2 separate regions of the Homo sapiens genome follow, and region 2 is linked to region 1. Evidence: promoter capture Hi-C in 16 types of primary human blood cells and fetal thymus (Javierre and others, 2016). All regions are on one chromosome and are shown on one strand. The core of a region is centred on a gene start or on the middle of the fragment in contact, and the rest is flanking DNA. Distances in the headings are between cores, read along the strand shown. Region 1 holds the start of KCND2 (potassium voltage-gated channel subfamily D member 2). Region 2 has its middle 650 kb from the start of LINC02476.

Region 1 (5,143 bases), core at 968-3,467:
AATTCCAAATACGGGCTGGATAAAATGAATTGCATTAGCATTATGCATTACAATAAAAAAGAACCAATATTGAGTACACTTCATGTGCTAAGTATTTCACTGGTGTTCAGAAGTATGATCCTGTTTCATCTTCACGACAGGCCTGAAAAGTTAAATTTCATTATCTATAATTTCTAATCATAGAAGTAATTTGCCAAATGAAACAAAGCCAGTAAGTAATTTCTTAAGCAAGATTTTGAATTTAGATGTGTTTAAGTTCTCAGCCCACATTCTTTCCACTATATCAAGAAGCTTGTTGAAGATGCAGGAGGGCAGATCCCAGTACCTTCTTAAAAACTGTACATATTATGTTCTTGCTTCTTTGGGGCTTTTGTGAGTTAAGCTCCTACTTTTACATTTGTAAGCATTCAGTTTCCCACACAGTTTTAAAGGCTCTATTTAGGTTCCTCGCCCCATCTTTACAGGAAAGCATGCCATTATTGGCATTGATTAAATATTCATGGCGCTCCACCCTCTGGATTCCATGCCCAGCACCTGTCATAGTGCCACCTTACTGTTTGGACTAACGAGGGGTTGGTTTTCTTATATTAATTGGTAGTAAGCCCCTCATTTCCATTTTCCAGGTAACATGCTTGTGTGTTTGTTTTCAGGTATGCAGGCTATATAGATTGGTTAACAAGCATCTTTCACTTAAACAAATAGATAAAGAGCAGGTGTCTTCAGTTCCTTGTCCTCAAACTTAAATGGTGCATTAGCTCTGACTTCATTACTACTGACACAGGATTCCTTAAATCTCTATTCTGTAAACAAATAAACAAACAAAAAATACCCTTTTATCTCTACAGAAAATCCTGTACATGATAAGGATATTTTAAATTCTCTGGTTATTTTCTATACTCATTTTTTAGTTTATATATTTTCTTTGACGTATCCCATTTCAAATTTTCAAGGTTGACACATCATGCCTGTAATCTCTAGGGCTTAAAAGTCAATTTCCGTAAAGTACAACACACAGTCCACTTATTTTACAAACCAAGGGCAGTCAAACCAAGCCATGAAAAGTAATTTTTAGGTAGAAATTAGGCTACTATTCTTCATCAATACAGATGAAGCCTCATTATTGCCAAAGATCTTAATTACTATGATGATGATGATTCAGTAATCTAGATTTAATTTTCAAAGGAATTTCAAAAGGAAACTCTCCACATCTCATCCCACAACTATCCAAATGCAGACTCAAGCCTAAGTAGTATATGTCACATAAACACAAAAAAGGTGGGTGGCAGCGAAGGGGTTTGGGGATGTTTATGTGATCTGACTCTCTGTTGGACCAGTTAATTTTGATCCTTCACCTTCCTAAAGCATCCAAACCTTAGGTGCAGATTTAACTTCTCGCCATCCACGCCATCTAGTGGCTTGTATGTGTTACGTTTGGTTTTAAGGATGATTCCTAATGACTCGGGGGCGGGGTACGCGAAAAACAAAAAGGTTGGTAGCGACAATTTTCCTGTGTCTCTCTACCTCAGTAACCCCTCATACGAACACCTTTAACTCTTTTAACTATTTTAAATATGCGCAGTGATGCGCAGAGAGGATGAAGGGGACGCAAACTTTCAGAGACGCACGCCCCTTGACGATGACATTTAGAAAAGGGCTCCACATCCCTGTTATTCGTAAAGGACGGGAAAAGGAGTTGTGTCAAGACCTCGATCGAGGAGAGTCTCTGATTTTTTGGCAAGTTGGACAGATGGCATATCAATCCCTGCAACGTTAACAATCTGGTTTTGAAAATAAATAAAAACAGAAAGAGGAAATGCACTTAAAAATTCCGCGTCGGAGCTTTGCGGGTCTTGCCTTCCAGTCGCCCCCAGAAGACAACCAATTCCTGCGCATTCCGCTCCGCTCACCCTCCTTCCCAGCTTCTCTCGCTCTCTTTCCCCCCATTTTCCCACGCTCGCCTTGAACCGGGACTCGAGAGGCAGAAGCAAGGCACGGGTCCCCTTTCTCCTCTCCTCCACCAAACCACCGCAGCCCAGCACGTGAAGCTTCCCTTTGTTCATCCGAGGCTCGCTTTTCTCCCCAGCAGATCCACCTGGATGCTCTCCCTCGGTGACATTTTGCGCCGGGGTTGGTGGGTGGCTGGGGTGGAGCGAGAGGAGCCCGAGGGGGCGGGGGCGGAGAAAGGTCAAGCCGAGGGAAAGGCAGGAGACGCCTTTCCTAACCTGCGTGGCGGGGCGTGCGCGCGGTTATTTATTTATTTTCTCCTTATTTATTGATCGCACTAGCAGAGCAGCGCGGGGAGCCCGGGGAGATGCAGGACCACCCACTGGCGGGGAAGCAGCTAGCAGCCCTCCCGCGCCCCCGCGCTGCCGAGCGCCTTCTGCCTCCGCGCTCGGACGAGAGCCCGTGCCGGCCCCGGCCCCGGCCCCACCGCGCCAACGCCGCCCGCCCGGCCGCCCCGCAGCCCCGCCGCCCCGCAGCCCCGCACCGCGCTGGCCAGGCTCCCGCGACAGTGGCCCCGCAGTAAGTTGGCAGGAGCGAGTCCCCTCCGTTCTCGCCTCCCCCGCACCTTTTGAACTTGTTGCTGCTGCTCTGCTCGCCTGCGCCTGGCTTTTGGAAGGTGAAAAGGAGGAGGGAGGCACGGAGGGATGGGGGAAGGGAAAGAAGAGCTCGCTTGAGCTTTATTTATGCTCTCTCGGCGCATCGGATTCGGCTGCTCGCGAGCTGCTTTCTCTCCTCTTCCCTTTCCGGGTGCACGGCGAGGAGAAAGTCTCTATGCAACTAAGCCCCGGCGCGCACTTGGCCAGGTATGTACCGCGGGAGCGGCGCGTTCTGCGCGGAAGCAGATGCTGCTGCCGCCACGGCGGCGGCGGCTGCCAGCTCCTGAGCTCTGTAACTGTCACACTGCACCTGAGCTGAACTTGAAAAGAGAGTGAAGGGGCGATTGGGCGAACGCTTTTGGCAGACACAGAGGGTGTTTGTAGACGTGGGGGAGGAGAATCTCTATTAACGCCCCCCACCGTAACCACTGCACATCACCTCCATCTCTGCAAATACAGCCCGAGGAGTAGAGGCAGCAGCAGCTGGACCCCCAAAGAGAGACGTGGGGCAGCGGCTGTGACCGCATCTCCTGAGCTACAACAACAGGTCGCCTTTTTGAGACTCCTTTGGCGGGAAGGGCTACTTGGAAAGGAAGGTTTGAAAGAGTGAGAAGGGTAGGTGTAAGGGTTCCCTAATTCGTCGAAAGAATTCTATTGGGTGACTCTCGTTCGTCTTCTCTATCCTACACTCCACATACTGACCCTATATTATCCAGACTGTGCCGGGGAGAAATCAAAAACACCTGTTTGAAGAAACGGCTGCACCTGTGTGCTTATTTGTGCCAGAGGGTGGCCTAGCCCACCTGCAGGAAGAGATTTGGCTGGGTTCTGTTGAGGGTGATTGTTAGGACGTTGTATTTTGTTGCCATTATTCCAAATACCTGTCTTGGAGGGAAAGTTGCCCTTCTGAGAACTGTGACTTTACCAGGAGCCCTATCTTGGAATAAGAGTTACACCTCTGGACCACGTTTCTCACTAGTACTTTGCTTGACTGGAGGAAGTGGGTGACTTTTGGCTGCTTCGGTGACCCATTGTAGACGCCTCGTTACCCTTCTTCCTTCCGCTTCAAGTAATCATGGCGGCGGGGGTGGCAGCGTGGCTGCCTTTTGCAAGGGCAGCGGCTATCGGGTGGATGCCTGTGGCCTCGGGGCCTATGCCGGCTCCCCCGAGGCAGGAGAGGAAAAGGACCCAAGATGCTCTCATTGTGCTGAATGTGAGTGGCACCCGCTTCCAGACGTGGCAGGACACCCTGGAACGTTACCCAGACACTCTACTGGGCAGTTCTGAGAGGGACTTTTTCTACCACCCAGAAACTCAGCAGTATTTCTTTGACCGTGACCCAGACATCTTCCGCCACATCCTGAATTTCTACCGCACTGGGAAGCTCCACTATCCTCGCCACGAGTGCATCTCTGCTTACGATGAAGAACTGGCCTTCTTTGGCCTCATCCCGGAAATCATCGGCGACTGCTGTTATGAGGAGTACAAGGATCGCAGGCGAGAGAACGCCGAGCGCCTGCAGGACGACGCGGATACCGACACCGCTGGGGAGAGCGCCTTGCCCACCATGACTGCAAGGCAGAGGGTCTGGAGGGCCTTCGAGAACCCCCACACCAGCACGATGGCCCTGGTGTTCTACTATGTCACGGGGTTTTTCATTGCCGTCTCTGTCATCGCGAATGTGGTGGAAACAGTGCCGTGCGGATCAAGCCCAGGTCACATTAAAGAACTGCCCTGTGGAGAGCGGTATGCTGTGGCCTTCTTCTGCTTGGACACGGCCTGCGTCATGATCTTCACAGTTGAGTATTTGCTTCGCCTGGCTGCAGCGCCTAGTCGTTACCGTTTTGTGCGTAGTGTCATGAGTATCATCGACGTGGTGGCCATCCTGCCTTATTACATTGGGCTGGTGATGACAGACAATGAGGACGTCAGCGGAGCCTTTGTCACACTCCGAGTCTTCCGGGTCTTCAGGATCTTTAAGTTTTCCCGCCACTCTCAAGGCCTGCGCATCCTGGGGTACACACTGAAGAGTTGTGCCTCAGAATTGGGCTTCTTGCTTTTCTCGCTCACCATGGCTATCATCATCTTCGCTACAGTTATGTTCTACGCAGAGAAGGGGTCTTCGGCTAGCAAGTTCACCAGCATCCCTGCAGCCTTCTGGTATACCATCGTCACCATGACAACACTAGGGTAGGTGCCATAATGGGAAATGGGATGGAGGTTGGGTATGGGTGAGGCGATTGTGGACCCATCGAGGTTACATGGTAACTCCGGGGAAATCATTTGTTTTCTTTCCTGAGTTTAGGAAAGCATTATCTAAATGGTTTGGCAAAACTCTTTTCATCTGTGAAATGGGTATAATACACACGTTGAAGTATTAAGGCATTGCTGGCAAATGTTGATGCCTGAAAGTGATAAAGATACAAAGAAATTTTAGAATTCCTGAATATATGAAAGTAGTAGCAATATTTATATTAATATATAAAAATATGACAATGAAAAACAAAATCTATGCCCTAATAAAGACACAAATATATACAATG
Region 2 (5,143 bases), core at 1,166-3,665, 1.0 Mb before region 1:
TAAGACTTTTACCCGGTGGCCCTTATAAAGACAAAGCTGATTCAATTCAGTGCTCTTGTCTGAACACAGAAGGATGCACTTCTATTGGTGATGATACCAAATTATTTGGTCTTCAGATATAGTCACATATTAAAATATTTTTAAACATAAAGATACATAAGTATTAAAGATAAGACTATAAAAGTAAAATTTTTGAAAATTAATTATATAAATGTATTTTTGAATAGACAAAGTCATCTTATTCTAACTTTTAAGTGACTAGAATCCAGATTCAAACTTCTTACTCAGAACTTAACTAATATTTCATCTAATCCTCCCATTTTGCAGATAGGAAGTGCACTGAGAAATATTAAATTAATAACCTCAGCTCACCTAAGCTCAGTTCACAAAATACAGTTTTACTTAGTTGAGTTTTAACTTTGGTTCACAGTCCTAAGTTTAATTCTGTGATAGTCTCTATTTGTCAGCCCTAACATGTGAAATATCTAGGTAGGGTATAGATTGTACAAGCAATTTTACAGAGTAATTTATGTGATGAGTCATGGGGTTACTGAAACAGTCAGGAATTATAAGACTGCTGCTACATAGAGAGAATCAATTAAAAACAAAAAGGAAGCAAAGCAATGTGAGATAAACAGAGTAGATGTGTATGACATTCTTAAAAGCATCTGTTTTAAGATGTCCTGCTGGTAGGAGAAAAATTAAATTAGATTCAAATATAATTGTGACATATTTTAGAATATGAAATGTCATTCTGTTTGTCAGGCAGGCTTGTGTTACTTGGATTCACAGCAATTATTATTTTTTTAATTCAAGAGTGATCTAACAAATAGTCTGTCTTACCCCTAATACCAATGCTGAAATTTTAAATACTAGGTAGAAAATATTAATCTTCATGAAGGTGTTTATATCCTTGGAATGGAAAATTTTTCTCTCCATGGACAAACTGTTGATTGTTTTTCTCTCCTATCTTTGGAGAAATGGGAGATTTAAATTTACTTTTATAACCATGTTTTTTCAAATGTATCTACTTTCTAAGGAAAAGATAATAGAAGAAACTGGGATTTTGGAAATAAATACAATAAAAGACCCATCAACTAAAGAGTGAATTATTAGTAATGTGCATTTGAAATGCTGCATCATGTTTATTTGAAAAGTAAATGATTCTGTCATATCAGCTCATCTGAAAAACTGACAAAAATATATCCAAAGTAAGCCTATGTAAATATATTTATAAAATTTATAATGGAAATGTATAAATATACTTATGATATTTATAATGGAAATATTTAATTCACATAATAATATAAATATGATTTAATTAAAATATTTCATAGTTGATAAAATATTTTAGGCTTTTAAATTTTACTTTGAACCAGTATAAATAGCTATCTTTTTAACATTTAAAAGGAAAATATCATTAGCTTAGCATTTTACAGGTTTCAAGCTCTACAAGGGGAGAAAAATGAAAACAAAAACAGCATAATTTTGTATTTGGAAGTGCAATGATTAGTACATAAATTATAATTATAAAATAATTAGGTTGTATTACATCATATTATTGAAAGAAGGCTTCTAAACCAGCCTGATTAATGATGGCTTCTTTTGTTTTAACAGTAACACATTTTCAAATCTATAGAAAATAAAATATTTAACATCTTACCATCTAATTAACATGCTCATCTTTAATATTTTGGAGACCTCTCACTTGTATTATAACAAACAGTGAAATCTAAGTGTCCAAAGTGAACCTTTTCATGTTGGTAGCTTTGCAACTGTTACATAACACTAATGCTGATGGCACTTTGCCATCTGACCATCAGTTTTACTTTGGGAACAATGTAGTGATGGTACTGTTGTCATGAGAGCCTTTCATTTAGTATTTTATAATTTTATGCTTATATTTTGTCCATACTAATGTATTTAAAATAATTTTAAAACTTTAATATTGTAAAAATTTGGAGGATTTGTGTGTGTGTATGAGTGCAAGAATTTGATATTATGTCAAAAATTGTACAGTCATCCCTGAAGTAGATGTCAATATTAAGAGCTGAGTAAATTATTTCATAATATAGACTTACTGATAAAAGACAAAGTATTTCTAATATATGAAAACATGATTATGAATGAAAAAGAGATAAACATAAAACATATGAAGCTTGCTTCTTACTAAGGTATAATAACACTTTTAAAAGAACAAAAAAGCTGGCAAGACACACAAAGACAGATTTTCTCATTTCCTTCCTTGGCTTTAGGGAGAAAATGTACTGTACAGTGGAACCCTGGCTTTGGCTGGACCCAAGACCGTATGTTAAATTAATTAATGTAAATTATATTGCTTTTTAAAAAAAGCATATATTCCATTTCCCATCATTTAAACCTCTGAACCCACATATATACAGAACATGGACAAAACTACACACTGTTTCCTGCTGCTAATAATAAGCAAATAAAAGATAATCCCTTAGTAGGTAAACTCATCCTTAAACAAATTTAACTCATATTAGGTGAGTAAACAGATGGAGCTGGCATAGTGCCTTAAAAGTCAGGAAATTCAGACTTGGTAGAGCTGATGAGGTGGAAAGGCAAGAGTATACCAGAGCTGAGGATTGTCCGGAGAAAAACTCTTCGTTTCTATCCTCACCTTCAGTAATGATCTTGGATTCTTAATGGAAAGCTTTGAACAAAATCCATATTTTATGATGATATATCATGAAAAGAAGAGCCAAATCATAGAATACAAAAGGGACTGTGTTGATTAAACACCTGCAGTACTTAGTATTTATCTTCCTTAACTTTACTAGGTTCTGCCTATAAAGCCAGCAAAATGGATTAAAAACAGATTTATGAAGTAGTTGATATTATTACTTTGTAATTTTAACTATAGTGTATCATAAATAAAATATTAGGTATTTTAAATTTATTTTGGATTTGAAGAAAGCACATATAAAGTTATTAGTGAGCAACCTATTTGGGATTGACTTTTGTTTTAAGATTTCATGTTCTCGGAAACAAAGTGTAAGTGTAAGGCGTTGTTGGTTCTGAGATTGTAAATACAAATAAGGCTCTTCCCTTTATTTGCTTTTATGTCTCTTTATTATTCATTCTCTTGAAACAATGATTAAAAGTGAAGTTGTTGGCAAGAAAAGCAGATGGTTTTTACAGCAAATAATTATATTTCCCCATAAAACACATAGAAAATGGGGATTTCTTGGACAACCTCATGTATTTGGTTTAAAATATTCCGTTGTCAAATCCATTTTACTCAACTAACAGAATAGGATTTGTGTTAACACTAAGATAACCCTCATTCCTTTTCTCATTCTTCATGTCCACAATTAGCAAATGCCTTTTTAATATGAGAAAATCAAAGAAGTAAGAAAAAGTACTTGAGATAAAAATGTTGGTATTGTTATGGGATCTTTGGGTGTTGCTTTTCTGGCCAGAAACCTCTGTGGCCGACGGTGCCTTTTCCCGAGTTCTTGTCCTCCACCCAGGAAGAATGAGGTACGCAGACAAGTGGAGGGAAAGGAAGATGAAGAGGAGCTTTGCTGAGTGTTAGAAAAGCTCAGAGGAGACCTGCAGGTGGGTAGCTCCTCTCTATAGGCAAGTCATCCCTTCAAGTGTTCAGCTCTCAGCAGAGAGGAGGCCCTGGAGAGGCAGGAAGCCCTGCCAGTTTTCCACGGGCCAGCCTGTAAAAGGCACCACAGTCCCTATTCCAGTCTGTGTTACTGGCAGCCTGGTCCCTAGCTTTCAGGCCCTCCCTGGACTGAAGGTGGGGCCTCACTGGAGACCCATCCCCTTTTTAATATGAGAAAATCAAAGAAGAAAAAATATGTGAGATAAAAATGTTAGTATGACTAATCTTCCTTAAGTTGATTATTTACATATGACTTTTATAAACCCATGAACAAAAGAGTTTACCTTGTGTTTAACAGAGAACGATCTTCTCCGTTATTAGTCATTAATCTGAATTTACTTTTTCTTTCAGAGTCTACTTTAGCATGCAGTTAAGAGTCACAATTATGATGCCAATATGTGTTTCTGGACTTCAGAAGAACTTAATACCACCTCAGTATATCTTGCCTTGTGGGTTATCAATAAATATTTCATATCATTTTGTTTCTTTAAGCCTTAGAAATATGTCATGTGAAGTATTAAGATAGTCATAATTCTCCAAACCTGAAGAATATATTATGTGAGAGAATTAAATAGCTTTTCCTGAATAATTTTTTCATGATAAAAGTCACTTAAAAAGCTCTGAGCAGATCTCATTTCCCAGAGCACTGCCAGCTCCTGTTCCTTTTCTACACAATTTGGCTTTGAAAATCCATTATCTGTCTATATATTTTTATCAGTGTAGTTTAAAAACGTGGCTGGTCGTTCTTCACTGCTGAAGCGTGTTGAAAGTCATTTCTACTTACCAAATTCAGTAATTGGGCAAGAACAAATAAAGTACATAGAAATCAGTGTCTCTGCAAAGAGACTATTATAATTTTTGCAAACACTGTCACTACTTTGTTTTATTTTCATGTGTACATCCGCAAGATTGAACAAGTTGAGCACTTGATGCAAAAAGTATAATTTGATTATTTTCCTTTCTCTGAAGATTTCCTTGTTATGTCTGCACGGGTTGGATACCAAAGGGTCTATGATCTCACTGGTCATATTGTGAAAGGTCCTCTGGTCACAGTGGCCCACAGAATATTCTCGGTATATAATTACCAAGTTTTTTAGCATAAGCCAAACTTACAAAATCGTGTTCATTGTTCTGGAGTACTTTAGGATCATTTACAGCAATAGTAAAAGAGAGAACTTTCTAATTAGAAAACATAAATTTGTTTATGGAAATTCAACTTTATTCTCTACATTTGCTAATTTCAGGATTGTACGTGGGCAACTGAGAAGAAAATGGGGGTGTAATTACAAAGACACTTCTTGAATATAGTACCATCATCTTGAGGTGTTGACATTCTGTAGGCTCAGCAGGTGTTCAAAGACGACACAATGTTTCATTAAGTGCTTTGGTGGAATAAAGTCTGGTTTTCTAGGAAACAGCCCCTGAGATGATGTGGTTTACCTAACGTAGTGATTCTTTTTTTTTTTTTTTTTTTTTTTTTTTGAGACGGAATCTTGCTGTATC

What was found. The method cuts DNA at HindIII sites, captures the fragments that hold promoters and counts their contacts. A CHiCAGO score of 5 or more calls a contact.
Region 2: a contact is called between a fragment that was not itself captured here and the fragment with the promoter of KCND2 in region 1, in 1 of 17 cell types (endothelial precursors). The highest score is 8.2, in endothelial precursors.

Annotation. Positions count from the first base shown.
Region 1 is chr7:120,270,958-120,276,100 of GRCh38, forward strand. It overlaps KCND2 (potassium voltage-gated channel subfamily D member 2), which reads left to right and starts at 2,218. Exons shown (of 6, transcript NM_012281.3): 1 at 2,218-4,790. The coding sequence starts at 3,676. RefSeq lists silencers at 1,305-1,404, 2,324-2,473 and an enhancer at 2,914-2,983. The HindIII fragment of the contact is 3,977 bases long and covers 2,044-5,143 here.
Region 2 is chr7:119,254,398-119,259,540 of GRCh38, forward strand. No RefSeq gene overlaps it. Among named protein-coding and RNA genes, the nearest start is that of LINC02476, 650 kb to the right of the region's middle. The HindIII fragment of the contact is 519 bases long and covers 2,157-2,675 here.